Regions from separate parts of the Homo sapiens genome. Here all the other regions are linked to region 2. Evidence: promoter capture Hi-C in 16 types of primary human blood cells and fetal thymus (Javierre and others, 2016). All regions are on one chromosome and are shown on one strand. Each heading gives the region's core, a stretch centred on a gene start or on the middle of the fragment in contact. The rest is flanking DNA. Distances are from core to core; before and after follow the strand shown.

The links. Contacts are between HindIII fragments. The CHiCAGO score rates a contact against its expected background, and 5 or more counts as called.
Region 1: a fragment that was not itself captured here is called in contact with the fragment with the promoter of KCNN3 in region 2 in 1 of 17 cell types (endothelial precursors); the score reaches 5.1 in endothelial precursors.
Region 3: a fragment that was not itself captured here is called in contact with the fragment with the promoter of KCNN3 in region 2 in 2 of 17 cell types (M2 macrophages and M0 macrophages); the score reaches 6.2 in M2 macrophages.

What each region holds. Positions count from the first base shown.
Region 1 is chr1:154,737,112-154,741,679 of GRCh38, forward strand. The region is part of intron 3 of KCNN3 (potassium calcium-activated channel subfamily N member 3); the gene reads right to left. Among named protein-coding and RNA genes, the nearest start is that of KCNN3, 130 kb to the right of the region's middle. RefSeq lists enhancers at 1-449, 4,503-4,568. The HindIII fragment of the contact is 1,184 bases long and covers 2,442-3,625 here.
Region 2 is chr1:154,868,783-154,873,511 of GRCh38, forward strand. KCNN3 (potassium calcium-activated channel subfamily N member 3) reads right to left here and starts at 1,499. Exons shown (of 8, transcript NM_002249.6): 1 at 250-1,499. The coding sequence starts at 1,182. RefSeq lists enhancers at 1,250-2,206, 1,279-1,368. The HindIII fragment of the contact is 14,105 bases long and covers 1-4,627 here.
Region 3 is chr1:154,640,752-154,645,027 of GRCh38, forward strand. No RefSeq gene overlaps it. Among named protein-coding and RNA genes, the nearest start is that of ADAR, 35 kb to the left of the region's middle. The HindIII fragment of the contact is 6,261 bases long and covers 1-4,276 here.

The sequences.
Region 1 (4,568 bases), core at 1,784-4,283, 130 kb before region 2:
AAAAGGTTTCTAAACCTATTCACAATTTTAGAGCGGTTTACACATGTCACAAACTCACATACTAATCTTGTGCTATTTTTTGCAATAGAAAATTTGGGGGGGGGGGATAGCTCCATGTTTTTCTTTAAAGGCTGAGGAGGAAAAGATGTAATTTTTCTTTGAGCTCAAGGGTAGTTATTACAGTTACTGATTTATCTTTCAGGGTGTGGACTATGGATTTTTTTTCACTTCTTAACATGAAATAAATGAGAGATACAAAAGACTGTATGACTTGGCAAAGATGGTAGAGACATATGTCTACTTTTGCTCACTCAAATCCCTTACAGCTCAAAGTTGTTAGTCTCCTACTTTTAAAAATAAGCAGGCAACCAGGAATCCCCAGACAGTCAGGAGTCTCTAACATGAAAGACACAGATCAAACCAGTCAACTAAACAAACAAAAAGAAGGAACTCTGGATCAAATACAGACCATTCACAGAGAGAACTCTTGAAGGAAAAATCCTATAATTAACGTAAGAGAGAGAAAATAAGATACTGGACCCACGAGACAAGAATGGAATGCTGTATGAAAAAAGTCTTCCTAGAGGGGCTGGAAGATGATAAATCGAGGAATTCTCCCAAAAAGCAGAAAAAGACAAAGAATGAAAATGAAAGAAAATATGAAGTTAGGCATTGTGGTGTGTGCCTGTATCCCCCAGCTGCTCGGAGGCTGAGGCAGGAGGATTGCTCGTGCCCAGGAGGTTGAGGCTGCAGTGAGCTATGATTGTGCCCCTGCACTTCAGCCTGGGGACAGAGCAAGACCCCCATCATCTCTTAAAAGGAGAGAGAGGGAAAGAAAATATGAGAAAATTAGTGAATCAGTCTCCCAATTCAAACAGTAGAAGTTACAGAAAGAAACAACTGGGGGGAAAAGAAGGAGAAAGAAGGAGAGAAGTAATTATTTTAAAAATCATTCAAAAACAAAAATCCCCAGAACTTAAGGGCATGAGTTTCTAGATCAAAGGCTCACTGTCCCCAGCACAGTGGATGAAAATAGATGCACACCAAGGCACATTATTGTGAAATTTCAGAACACCAGGGGAAAGGAGACAATCCTACAGAGCTTTAGGGGTTTTGGGGGAGGGTATAAAAGAGGCCAAATACAAAGAACCAGAAATTACAACAGCTTCGGACTTTTTGACAGCAACACTGGAAGCTAGAAGGCCATGGAATAAAGCCTTCAAAATTCTGGAGGAAAATTATTTCCAAATCAGAATTCCAAACCAGAGACCAGAAATCTGAATTGGCCAAAGTATTAGTTCAGTCTGAGGGTGGAACGAAGACATTTTCAGATACGTAAGGTTGTCACGGGTTTGCCTCCCATGCACCCTCTCTCAGGAAGACACAGGAGGTATGCTTCACCAAAACAAAGAAGTAAACCAAGGAGGAAGACAAGGAATAAAGGTAACGAGCTCAGGGTGATGCTACAGGGAGGCCCTCATAGGACAGGTGCTCACCAGGTGCGGAGGACAACCCGTCCGGGCTGGAGCAGGTCAAGAGGCTCTGGGAGACACTTCCAAGGAGATGAAATTGATAGGAAACTTAATGTGCCTGAACATCCTGAAAAGAGGTTTAGACAACTGCCAGAGTTTGCACTTGCATTAATGACGAATACATAGAAAACTAAGCAAACAAACAAACACGATCATTAACAACTCCAGGAAAAATGAAAAGTTCTGCAGGAAGGGAAAAGTTATCATATTTTTTACTACAAGGCTCAACTATGAATAGAGTCAAATTAGTGTTGACTGAGTAATGTAAACACTGATTACTGCTTTAACCAAAATTATGATGTAATTATAAAAGGAAGATGAAGGGAGAGGAAGAGTTGGAGGAGAGGAAAGGGAGCTAAATTTTCATCTCCCAGAGTGGGAAGGGAATAGATAATACCTAAATAAACCAAAGCATCAAAAGGTAGCAATACACACATATTACTTACAGACATGGAGGTAAATACTAAAATTAATTAGCAAAAGAAGGTAAAAGTAGCTGCCTCTGGAGAACAGTAAATGGGAAGAGCTGGTGGAAGACAGCAAATACCACGGAAGGATTGACTCTACAGTGTATGCACATGTAACTTTGATCATATCAACAGAACACCAAACCAAAGAGAAAAAACAAAACTACATGCAACATTAAATGACATCAAGAAACACAGAAAGAAAATAAGCACCATGAACTCACCATCCAGCTCCAACCTGTGGGATCTACTTGTATGTTCTCTCCATTCTTAGTGCCCCCCACCCCAGGATCATCATTACCCTGAATGTCATGTTTATCATTTCCTCGTTTTTCTTCATAGTGCTTCCATGTAGGCAGGATTACCTAAGCAATATGTAATTTCATTTTTCCTATTTCCGACCTTCATAAGGATGAAATCATACCACAAGAGTATGGTAGGAAGCTTCTAAAATGACCTCGATATCCCCCCTCCTCTTGAGGTCTTCACACACTTTTGCAATCCTTTCCTTTTGAGTGTGGGCTGGACCAAGTAACTGGTTTCTAACACATAGAGTATGGCAGAAGTGATAGACTTTCATTTCTGAAGTTAGGTTATGGTAAGATCATGGCTTCTGTCTTGGGTGATCTCTCACTAGTTATCTTTTGGATCACTCTCCCTGGGAGAATCCACAGGCCATGTCGGGAGGCAAGCCCGTGGAGTGCCACATGGCAAGGGACACAGCCTGCCAACCACCACATGAGTAGCTTAGAAGCAGGTGTTCTTTAAGTCAAGCCTTGAGGTGAGACCACAGCCCTGGCTGACAGCCTGACAATCTCATGAGAGAACTTGAGGCAGAGGTACCCATTTAAGCTGCACCTGAATTCCTGACCCACAGCAACCCTGAGATGGTAAATGTCTGCTGTTTTTAGCTGCTAAATTTTGGAGCAAGTTGTTATGTAGCAACAGATAACTAATACAGTGAACTCTTCTATGAATTGCTTCTTTTCTGTTCAACATATATATTATATTGACATATGTAGCTATAGTCTATTTTTATTCCTGTATTGTATTTCATCATATGAATATGGCATGATTTATTTATTCATTCACCTGTTGATGGACAGTGGGATAGCTTACGGGTTTTTCCTCTAATGAGAAATACTGCTACAAACATTATTTTTTATTGACTTATTGTTATTGTATTTTTAGAGACAGGGTCTTACTCTGTTGCCCAGGCTGGACTGCAGTGGCACAATCATAGCTTACTGTAGCCTCAAACTCCTGGGCTCAAGAGATTCTCCTGCCTTGACCTCCTGAAATGTTGGGATTACAGGCATGAGCCACCTCACCCAGCCCAAACATTCTTAATCATAGCTCCTGGTACACTGCATAAGAGTTTCTCTAGGACACATACCTAAGACTGGGTTTGCTGGTTTGTAGGATATGTACATATTTCACTTCATTAGGAAATGTCAAGTTGTTTTCTAAGATGCCAGTGCCAATTAGGCTTCCACCAGAGGTGGATAAGAGTTCCTGTTTCTCCATATCCTCATTAACACTTGCCATTGTCTGACTTTAATCTCTGCCACACTAGTGGGTGAATTGGGATCTCATCAAGACTTGACTTTACGTTTCCATGATAAAAGCTTAAGTAGCCTTTCATATGTTTCTTTGTCATTCATACTTTCTCTTCTGTGGCGTGTCATTCATGACTTTTGTCCACTTTTCTATTGGCTTGTTTTTGTTTTTTCTCATTGATTCTAAAAGTTATTTATATATTCTAGATAATAAGAATTTTGTCAGTTTGTGTGTTGCAAATATCTTCTTCCAGTGTGTGCCTTGCCTTTTTCTCTACAGTATTTTTGATGAATAGAAGTTTTAAATTTTACTGTAGGTGACTTTATCATCCTTTAATTTATAATTAGCAGTTATTTGGTTTTTGCAGAAATCATTCCCTCCCTGAGATTGTAACATTTTTACATATTTTAAAATGTTGCCTTTCTAAGTCTTCAATTTGCCTGGAATTGATTTTGCATATGGTGTGAGGCAGGGATACAACTTCATTTTTTTCACATGGGTAAGCAATTATCTCAGTTTCACTTAATGTGCAGACCATCCTTTCTCCTACTAGCTTTCAATGCTCCCTCTGTCTCATAAATTATATGTGGAAGTGGTACTATTTCTTGGTTCTCTATTCTGTTCCATTGGTCTATTTGTCTAACCCTGAAGTTATATTACAGTATTCTCTGTAGCCTTTCCTTGGTACCTTCTGAGGGTCTAGCACATAATAGGGGCTCACTAAAATACTTGTGGACTGACTAAGGCCTGCATGCTGCTTTTCCTGTCCCTCTACAAAAGTGAGGCTTGCTTCAGTAATTCAGTGAATCATGTTAAAATGATTTCAGCTGTTCTCTTCAGCAGATTAAACCTTTGTCAAGGTGGCTGCCAAATTCCTTGAGCTTGGAGTCAGTTCTCACTATTAATAAGAACTCAGCTTCATGACACTAGCTGTGATCTGTTACAGCACTAGGGTGACAGAAAATAAGCCAAAGTGAAATGACTGCCTCTTCTTCCTTATTCTCCAAAA
Region 2 (4,729 bases), core at 249-2,748:
AATTCTCCCGGGATCAAGAAGGAAAACCACGGGAAGTTAGAGTGTTGAATATAACTGAGCAAGCGCCTCTCACCACCACCACCACCTCTCTCTCCCAGTCTCCCTCCCAATCTCTCAATCTCTCTCTCTCTCTCTCTCTCTCTCTCTCTCTCTCAATCTCTCTCTCTCACAATCCCCCTCTCTCAATCCCTCTCTTGCTACCTACATATTCCTTTTGTTCAAGGTATAAAGAGAAACCACAGCCCCTACCTTTGAGTACAAACCCCAAGAGAGCTCGGTCTCTATCACCATAACAACAATTCCAAACATCCCAAAAATCAGAGCATAGTCACTCAGTCGCTTTCTCTTTTCAAACAGGGCCCTCCTGTGTCCCAGCTTATAGCCAATGTTTTGGTTTTTCCGCTTGTTGGCTTTGGGGAAGGTGGTGCTGCTGGCGGTGGTGCCGGCATGCTGGTGGTTGTGGGTGGCATTAGGGTGATGGAGCAGGGTCTGGTGGGCATGGTTGTCCTCCCGGGAGGAGATGACGATCTCCGGGGGGTTGCTAGGGCTGAAAAGCTGGAGGGGTTGGCCCTCAGTCTCGGCCTCGATGAGGTTCCTCCGGGAGGCGCTGAGGCGGCTGAGGGGCTTCATGACCCCACCGCTATACTTGCAGGAGCTCATGGCGATCTCCGTGAAGGGGTTGCTGTCCCGCCGGTGCACCAGGGGGCTGGCCTGTCGGTGCCGGCTGCCTCCGCCAGGCCCACTTGTAGCTGTGGAACTTGGAGAGTGGCCAAGCAAGTGGTCATTGAGATTGAGCTGGCTGCCTTGCCTGGAGGAAGGGTGGAGGATGGCGGTGGAGTTGGACGAAGGGGGGGCCCTGAAAGCGGTGGGAGAGGAGTGCAGCAGGCCAGGGTGGACGGGCTGGCTCTGGAGTTGGGCGAGCTGAGACAGGGGATGCGGTGGCTGCTGCTGCTGCTGCTGCTGCTGCTGCTGCTGCTGCTGCTGAAGCTGCGGAGGCTGAGGCTGCAGCGAGGGTCCCAGGGGCTGCTGGGGGGCTGCTGGTGGCGCTGGCGGTGGTGGCTGCTGCTGCTGTTGCTGCTGCTGCTGCTGCTGCTGCTCATCCCCAGAGGATGGACAGGGGCACTTGGGGTCTTCATCCAAGTCCCCCACCCCCGAGTCATGGAAGTGCCCAGAAGTGTCCATCTTGGGGCCTGGCTGTATTCCCTGCAGCACAAGCCCCCACCCCAAAGCCACCCTCGCTCCAAAGATGTCCTCAAAGAAAGCCAGGCATCCAATCTCCCCCACCAGTATCTTGGCTCCAGTCCTCTCTTTGGCTTGCTTCGGTTCTCTGGGGCTGCCTGGAGTCCAGACGCTGCCACTCAAGAATGCATTGTATTGGGCAGGGAGGGAGAGCAGGAGGGGAGCTTGGAGAAAGAAGAGGGGGTGAAAGAACTCTCTCAGGAGGTGGTCCTCTAGGAGCGTGTGAGGCCAGGCTCAGCTTCACTCCTCGCTGGCTCAATAGCTTCGCTCGCCTCCTCCTGCCACTGTTACATTGTAAGCCAAGCCCACTTATTAGCAGCTGGTCTCATTGGCTTGGCTTAACTCTCCAACCTCCTCCTAGCTCCGCCCCCCGCATAGGCTCCTCCCCAGAGGAGGGGCCTGGCGTCCTGGGCTCCGGCCCCAGTGGCGGCGCAGCGAGGACTGGGAACTGTAGTTTTTGCTCCCCCACCCCGGAGCTGAGCCGCTGTCCTCTTTCCTCTGACAGGTATGGCCACAACCCTTAAGCCCACGGCGATAAGGGATGTTCGCTCACGCTGGGCGATGGGGAGGAGGGACAGAGGGCCTCCGAAGGAGGGGAGGTGTGCACCCTGATGAGGGGGCAGACGGAGGGGAAGGCAAACATTTATTAACCACCAGGGTTTACGATAGGTTGTTTCACATATATTATCCGGATACAGTCTCCAAACACCCAAGGAGGTGGGCAGTATGGTCTCATTTACAAAGCCTGATGCTTAGAGGTGTTGAGTAACAACGTCAAGGTCACAGAAGCAGGGGGGATCCACACCTTCTAACACCCGGTGGATAAACTCACCTACCATTGACTGAGTGCCTACGCCTCGTGTTCAGGGTCCTCTCTGTTATTTCCAACCCTCACATCAACCCCACAAAAATGATGTCATCACTCTCCTTTTACAGATGAAAATTGGAAGAAGAAGAAGAAGAAGGAGAAGGAGAAGAAGGAGAGAAAGGAAAGTGGAAAAAACACTCAAACGCTCAAACATAGATATGTAACTTGTCAGATGTCATCCCGCTTGTAATTAAAGATGCTGGGATTTGAACTTAGTCAGTCTGACCCCACAGATCAGATACTTTCTCCCAGGATGCATTTCCACTATGATATTCAGTACAAAGTGGTTGTTCAATAAATATTGTTCAAATGTTAGTTGGGGAAAACAAAAGAGAAGCTGCTGAGGAAGAACTGGCCTCTCCAAAGCAGGGTGTGTGAAGTGGACCATGGCTCCAGCCCCTTCCCTAACAGCTGGGTGTGTAGTCACAGGGGGATCTGGCAGGAAGACTGAAGATTCCCCCATGGTCATTCCCTGCCTGATTTGCCCCATGGGGCTCTGAGAGTCAGAACTAGGAACAGCTGCTGGCTTCCCAGGTTCAGAACCATCATCATCAAGTATTTATTAAGCCCCCACTGTGTGCAGAGGGGGTTCCAAAGGATGGGACCAGAGCTGAATTCATTTTCATTTCTAACCACAGCAGCCTTAGGAATCAGAAAGGAAGTCACCATGAGGGAATTCCCCAGAACACCTGGGGTTTTAAAAGGCAGGCCTCTTCCTCTCTGGCTCTTGATTCCCCATCACCCTTTGGCCTCTGTCCAGCTCCCTCCCTCGATGGGAAGAGGAAAGGGTAGGAGATCCATGCACACATACACAGACACACATCCAGAAAACATGTAAGCAGGTGGACATATGTGCACATGTGTACATGGTTGTGTGCACACACTAGCCCATGCATGCACACATGCACACATATACACATAGGAAGCTCCTAAAACAGCATTCCTGACTGGTAAGCAGCAAGTGTCCAGATCAGGGAGGGACAGAGCCCCCCCAAAATGAGCCCAGAGTCCCCTCTGTATATCAGTTCTCACCTCTCCAATCCCCCATTAACCCTGATGATTGAGAGCTAAATATTACTTGTAATACAAGCCACGACCCCAGATACGTGACAATTACTCTTGCACAATAATCTTGATTCTGGCCAGGCATGGTGGCTCATGCCTATAATCCCAGCACTTTGGGAGCCCAAGGCAGGAGGGTTGATTGAAGTCAGGAGTTCGAGACCAGCCTGGACAACATAGCAAGACCCAGACTCTACAAAATTTTTTAAATTAGCTGGACATGGTGGCGAGTGCCTGTAGTCCAGCTACCCAGGAGGCTGAGGGAGGAGGACTGCTTGAGCCCAAGAGTTTGAGGCTGCAGTGAGCTGTGATAGCGCCACTGCACTTCAACCTGGGCGACAGAGTGTTACCCTGTCTCTAAATATATATATATATAAAATAATAATCTTGATATCAATGACATAATCATTTCCCCTACCCCTGCCAACACACACACACACACACACACACACACACACACACACACACACACACACACTAGAAGTCACAGTACCAGGCCTCAGATGCAAGCCTGGGGTCTCATGTGTTTTCCCATGACCAAGCCCTCTAGAACCCACCCCCAACCCCTTCAGCATCCTCTGCCTTCCCTGCCCTTCCCTTCTGTATTCTTGATTTCCCTCCCTCTCCTCCATCCGCAGACAGAGCCACCTGCTTGGTTCAAGGCTCCAGATCGCATACTTAGGTTTAATGATCCTCTAATAAATTATCATGAATATGTTGTTAGTAGCAAAAATGTGCTGTTCGTGTTGGTTTTTTAGTGTTGGATACAGTTTTCTGGGCTGTGAAAAATCAATTTTGGAGAACAGGCTCCAGGCCTGGGTATTCCTATGCTCACTCTACCCCCATGAGCTGCCTTCTGCCTCAGCTAACCTTTCTGGCCAGCCTCTTGCCTCCAGTTCTTCTGGCTGTGCCAATGGGATCCAAATGGGGCCTATCAGAGCACGTCCTGCCATCATGGATAAGGATGAAAGATAGCTTGGGTAGAGCCCTAACTATGCCAGCACCAAAGATCAGTGGTTATCTGGAAATGGGCTGGAACTTGACAGCTGATGCCACGGAGCCAGCTCATGCCCCTTGTTACAGCTATCCTGTCATGAACAGGAGGAGGAGGACAATGTCATGTTTAGAGCTTGGGCTCAAGTGTCAGACTGCCCAGGCTGGAACCGTTCTCTGCTGCAGGGATGGCTGTGTGACCACAGGCAAGATGACCTTCTGATCATCCATACACATCTCTTCCTAACTCCACAGTGATGTCACATTAGCAGCTTGAAATCAGCCATGATCAGAGTATTTACACCACAGAAATCGGCTAACACTGTAAATTAGAGCTTATGTTTTCCTGGAAGCCGCTTGCTAAATCTTTCCTGGCTGTTCAACATTTATCAGCATATTACTGCCTCCTATATCATTACATACAGGCTGTGCGCTCCACCCTCTGCCTTCCTTCTCACCAGCACAAGCTTTGCCACTCGCCCACTTTGTGACCAGTTGCTTATGTTCTCAGGCCTTCAATTTCCTTAGTCCAATGAGAGCACCGGCCAAGTACTTTGTAACTGTCAA
Region 3 (4,276 bases), core at 1,534-4,033, 230 kb before region 2:
CACAAATTGGTTTTTGGAAACGACTGATAGAAAAACTGATAAAACTGATCTAGAATAAAAGAGAGGAGGCACAAATAAAGTCAGAACCAGAAAGGGGACATAGCTATAGATCCTGTTTAAGAGTAGTAAGAATTATAGATATTTGGGTTTTATTCCCAGAGTTACATATTGAATTGGCGTGGGATACAGCCTGGGCATAGAGGTTTTCAAAAGGACCTTGGAAATCTAATGTGCAGCTGATTTTGAGAACATCGGCTGTAGGGTGATCTGGTTGGGCCATTGTTGGAGAACGCCTGATGTTGGTATATTTGGTTTTTTTCTTTTCTCTTAAGCTGTTCAAATTCCCCTGTGAAAAACCTTCCATTTTCCTGCCTAAAGGATATAACCCTGGTTGATAACTCTCTGATAACTGAGCAGAGGAGGAGGATTGAGGGGTCTTAACATTTAACAAATAAGCATTCCCTTTATCCTGTTTTCAGAACAATAACCTTAATCTCAACTGTATCTGATCCCAAACTAGAGGCCCTAAGTCTTACTTTCTTCATAGACTAGGCCTAAGTCTTTCTCTGGAGCAGGAGAGGAGCCAACACAAGGCCTCACAGTATGGAGAAAGGGGATGGATACTCATGCTGTTTCTTTTTTGTTTAAAAAAAATCATGTTCGATTCAAGGGGTGGGTACATGTCAGGTTTGTTACATTGTCATATTGCACAATGCAAGGTTTGTGCTTCTATTGATCTGTCTATTGATAGCGAACATAGTATCCAATAGGAAGTTTTTCAGCCCTTGCCCCTCCTGCCTACCTCCCCACTTTTGGAGTTCCCAATGTCTATTGTTCCCATCTTTAAATCCATGTGTACCCAATGTTTAGCTTTCACTTATAAGTGAGAACATTCAATATTTGATTTTCTGTTTTTGTGTTAATTCACTTAGGATAATAGCTTACCGTTGCATTCATGTTGCTGCAAGGACATGATTTTGTTCTTTTTTATTGCTGCATAGTATTCCATGGTGTATATATACCACATTTTTGTTATCTAGTTCCCTGTTGATGGGCACCTAGGTTGATTCCATGACTTTGCTATTGTTTGCAATTATTATTATAGCACACCCTTCAGTTTAGTTAGGCCTCCTCCCCCTCCTCACCCTCTTCCTCCTCCTTTTTGTTCTTCATAGACTATTTTTTAGAGAAGTTTTTGATTCACAGCAAAACTGAGCAAAAGGCACAGAGATTTCCTGTGGGAAACCCCATTCCCCCATACATGCATAGCCTACCCCCTATTAACATCCCCCACCAGAGTAACACATTGGCTATAATTAATGAACCTACACTGACACATCATTATCACCCAAAGTCCATAGTTTACATCAGGGGTCACTTTGATGTTGTACATTCTGTGGGTTTGGACAGATGTATAATGACATAATTACCATTACGTTATCAAACAAGGTCATTTCACTGCCCTAAAAATCCTTTGTGCTCCATGGATTTATCTCTCCCTCACTAATAACCTCCAGCAACCACTGACCTTTTTACCATCTCCATAGTTTTGCCTTTTCCAGAATGTTATAGATTTGGAATTATACAGAATGTAGACTTTTCAGATTGGCTTCTTTCACTTAGTAATATGCATTTAAGTTGCCTTCATGTCTTTTCATGGCTTTATAACTTCTTTCTTTTTAGTGTTGAATAATATTCCCTTGTCTGTATGTATCACAGCTTATTTATCCATTTATTTATCTACTGATAGACATGTCCACTTATTTATCTACTGAAAGATATATTAGTTGCTTCCAAATATTGGCAATTATGAATAAAGCTGCTATAAACATCTGTGTGCAGGAGTCTTAGTCTGTTTTCTGCTGCTCCAATAGACTACTACAGACTGGGTAACTTACAAACAATATAAGTTTATTTGGCTCATGGTCCTGGAGGCTGGAAGGTTCCAGAACATGGCATCAGCATCTGATGAGGGTTTTAGGGCTGCATCATCTCATGGTGGAAGATGAAAGGGCAGGAAGGCACACACAACAGTGAGAGAGAAAGGTGGCCAAACTCATTCTTTTTATTTTATTTTTTATTTTCATTTTTTTAGAGATAGGGTTTTGCTCTGTCACCCAGGCTGGAGTGTAGTGGCATAATCATAGCTCACTATAACCTTAACACCTGGGCTTAGGTGATCTTCCTGCCTCAGCTTCCTGAGTACTCAGCTGGGACTAAAGGCACATGCCACCACTTTTGCCAATTTTTTTTTCTTTAATTTTTTGTAGAGACAGGGTTATATTGCCCAGGCTGGTCTTGAGCTCCTGGCCTCAAGCAATTCCTCACTTCTTGGCCTCCCAAAGTGCTGAGTTTACAGCCATGAGCCACTGCATCTGGCCAAAATCATTCTTTTATCAGGAACCCACTCCCATGATAACTAACCCATTCCTTAGATAATGGTGTCCATAAGAATCACCTCTTAAAGGTCTCACCTCTCAACACTGCTGCATTGGGGAGGAAATTTCCATCACATGAACTTTGGGACATATTTATACCATAGGAACAGATTTTTGTGTGAACGTAAGATTTCAGTTCATTTGGGTAAACACCAAAGAGTGTGAGTGCTGGATTGTGTGTTGAAAATGTTTGGTTTTGCAAGAAACCACTACACTGTTTCCAAAGTGACTATACTATTTTGCATTCCTGCCTGCAATGGATGCAAGTTCCTGTTGCTCCACATCCTTGTCAGTATTTGGTATTGTCAGCGTTCTTGATTTTGGCCGTTCTAATAGAGGTATAGTGGTATCTTGTTTTAATTTGCATTTCCCTGATGATACGATGAGCAGCATCTTTTCATATGCTTATTTGCCATTTGTATATCTTCTTTGGTGAGGTGTCTGTTGAGATCGTTGGCCCCTTTTATATTTCTTTATTTTTAATTGACATATAATAATTGTACATATTGGCTGGGCACAGTGGCTCACGCCTGTAATCCCAGCACTTTGGGAGGCCGAGACGGGCGGGTCACGAGGTCAGGAGCTTGAGACCATCCTGGCTAACATGGTGAAACCCCATCTCTACTAAAAATACAAAAAAATTAGCCAGGTGTGGTGGTGGGTACCTGTAGTCCCAGCTACTCCGGAGGCTGAGGCAGGAGAATGGTGTGAACCTGGGAGGTGGAGCTTTGAGCCGAGATCACACAACTGCACTCCAGCCTGGGCAACAGAATGAGACTCTGTCTCAAAAAAAAAAAAAAAAAATAATAAAAATTGTACATATTAATGAGGTACATGTGATATTTCAATACATGTTTACAATGTGTAATGATCAAATAAGGGTCCAGTTTTTAGCTGGGTTGTTTACTTTTTTATTACTTAATTTTAATAGTTCTTTGTATATTTTGGATAACAGTCCTTCATCAGATATGTCTTTTGTAAATATTTTCTCCTAGTGTGGTTTCTGTCTTTATTCTCTTGACAGTGTCTTTCACAGAGCAGAAGTTTTTAATTTCAACAAAAGTCCAGCTTATTAATTCTTTCTTTCAAGGATTGTGCCTTTGATGTTGTATTTTTTTTTTTTTTGAGACAGATTCTCGCTCTGTCACCCAGACTAGAGTGCAGTGGCACGATCTCGGCTCACTGCAACCTCTGCCTCCCGGGTTCAAGTGATTCTTCTGCCTCAGCCTCCCGAGTAGCTGGGACTACAGACACACGCCACCACACCCAGCTAATTTTTGTATTTTTAGTAGAGATGGAGTTTCACCATATTGGCCAGGCTGGTCTCAAACTCCTGACCTCGTGATCCACCCACCTTGGCCTCCCAAAGTGCTGGGATTACAAGCGTAATTACAGGCCTGGCCTGATGTATCTTAAAAGCCATTGCCAAACCCTAGGTCATCTAGATGTTCTCCTATGTTATCATCTAGGAGTATTACAGTTTTAAAAGTTTTTATAGCTCTGCCTTTTGTATTTAGGTTTACGGTCCATTTTGAGTTAATTTTTGTTAAGTCTGTGTCTAGATTTTGTGTGTGTGTATGGATGTCCACATATTCCAGTATCATTTGTTGAAAAGGCTATCTTTTCCCCATTACATTGCCTTTGCTTCTTTGTCAAAGATCAATTGACTATATTTACATGGGTCTATTTCTGGGTTTTCTATTCTGTTCCACTGCTGTATTTGCTTTTTTTTTTTTTTTTTTTTTTGCTGATATCACACTTCTTAATTAAAATATTATGGGCGCGGTGGCTCACTCCTATAATCCCAGCACTTTAGGAGGCCAAGGCGGGCAGATCAC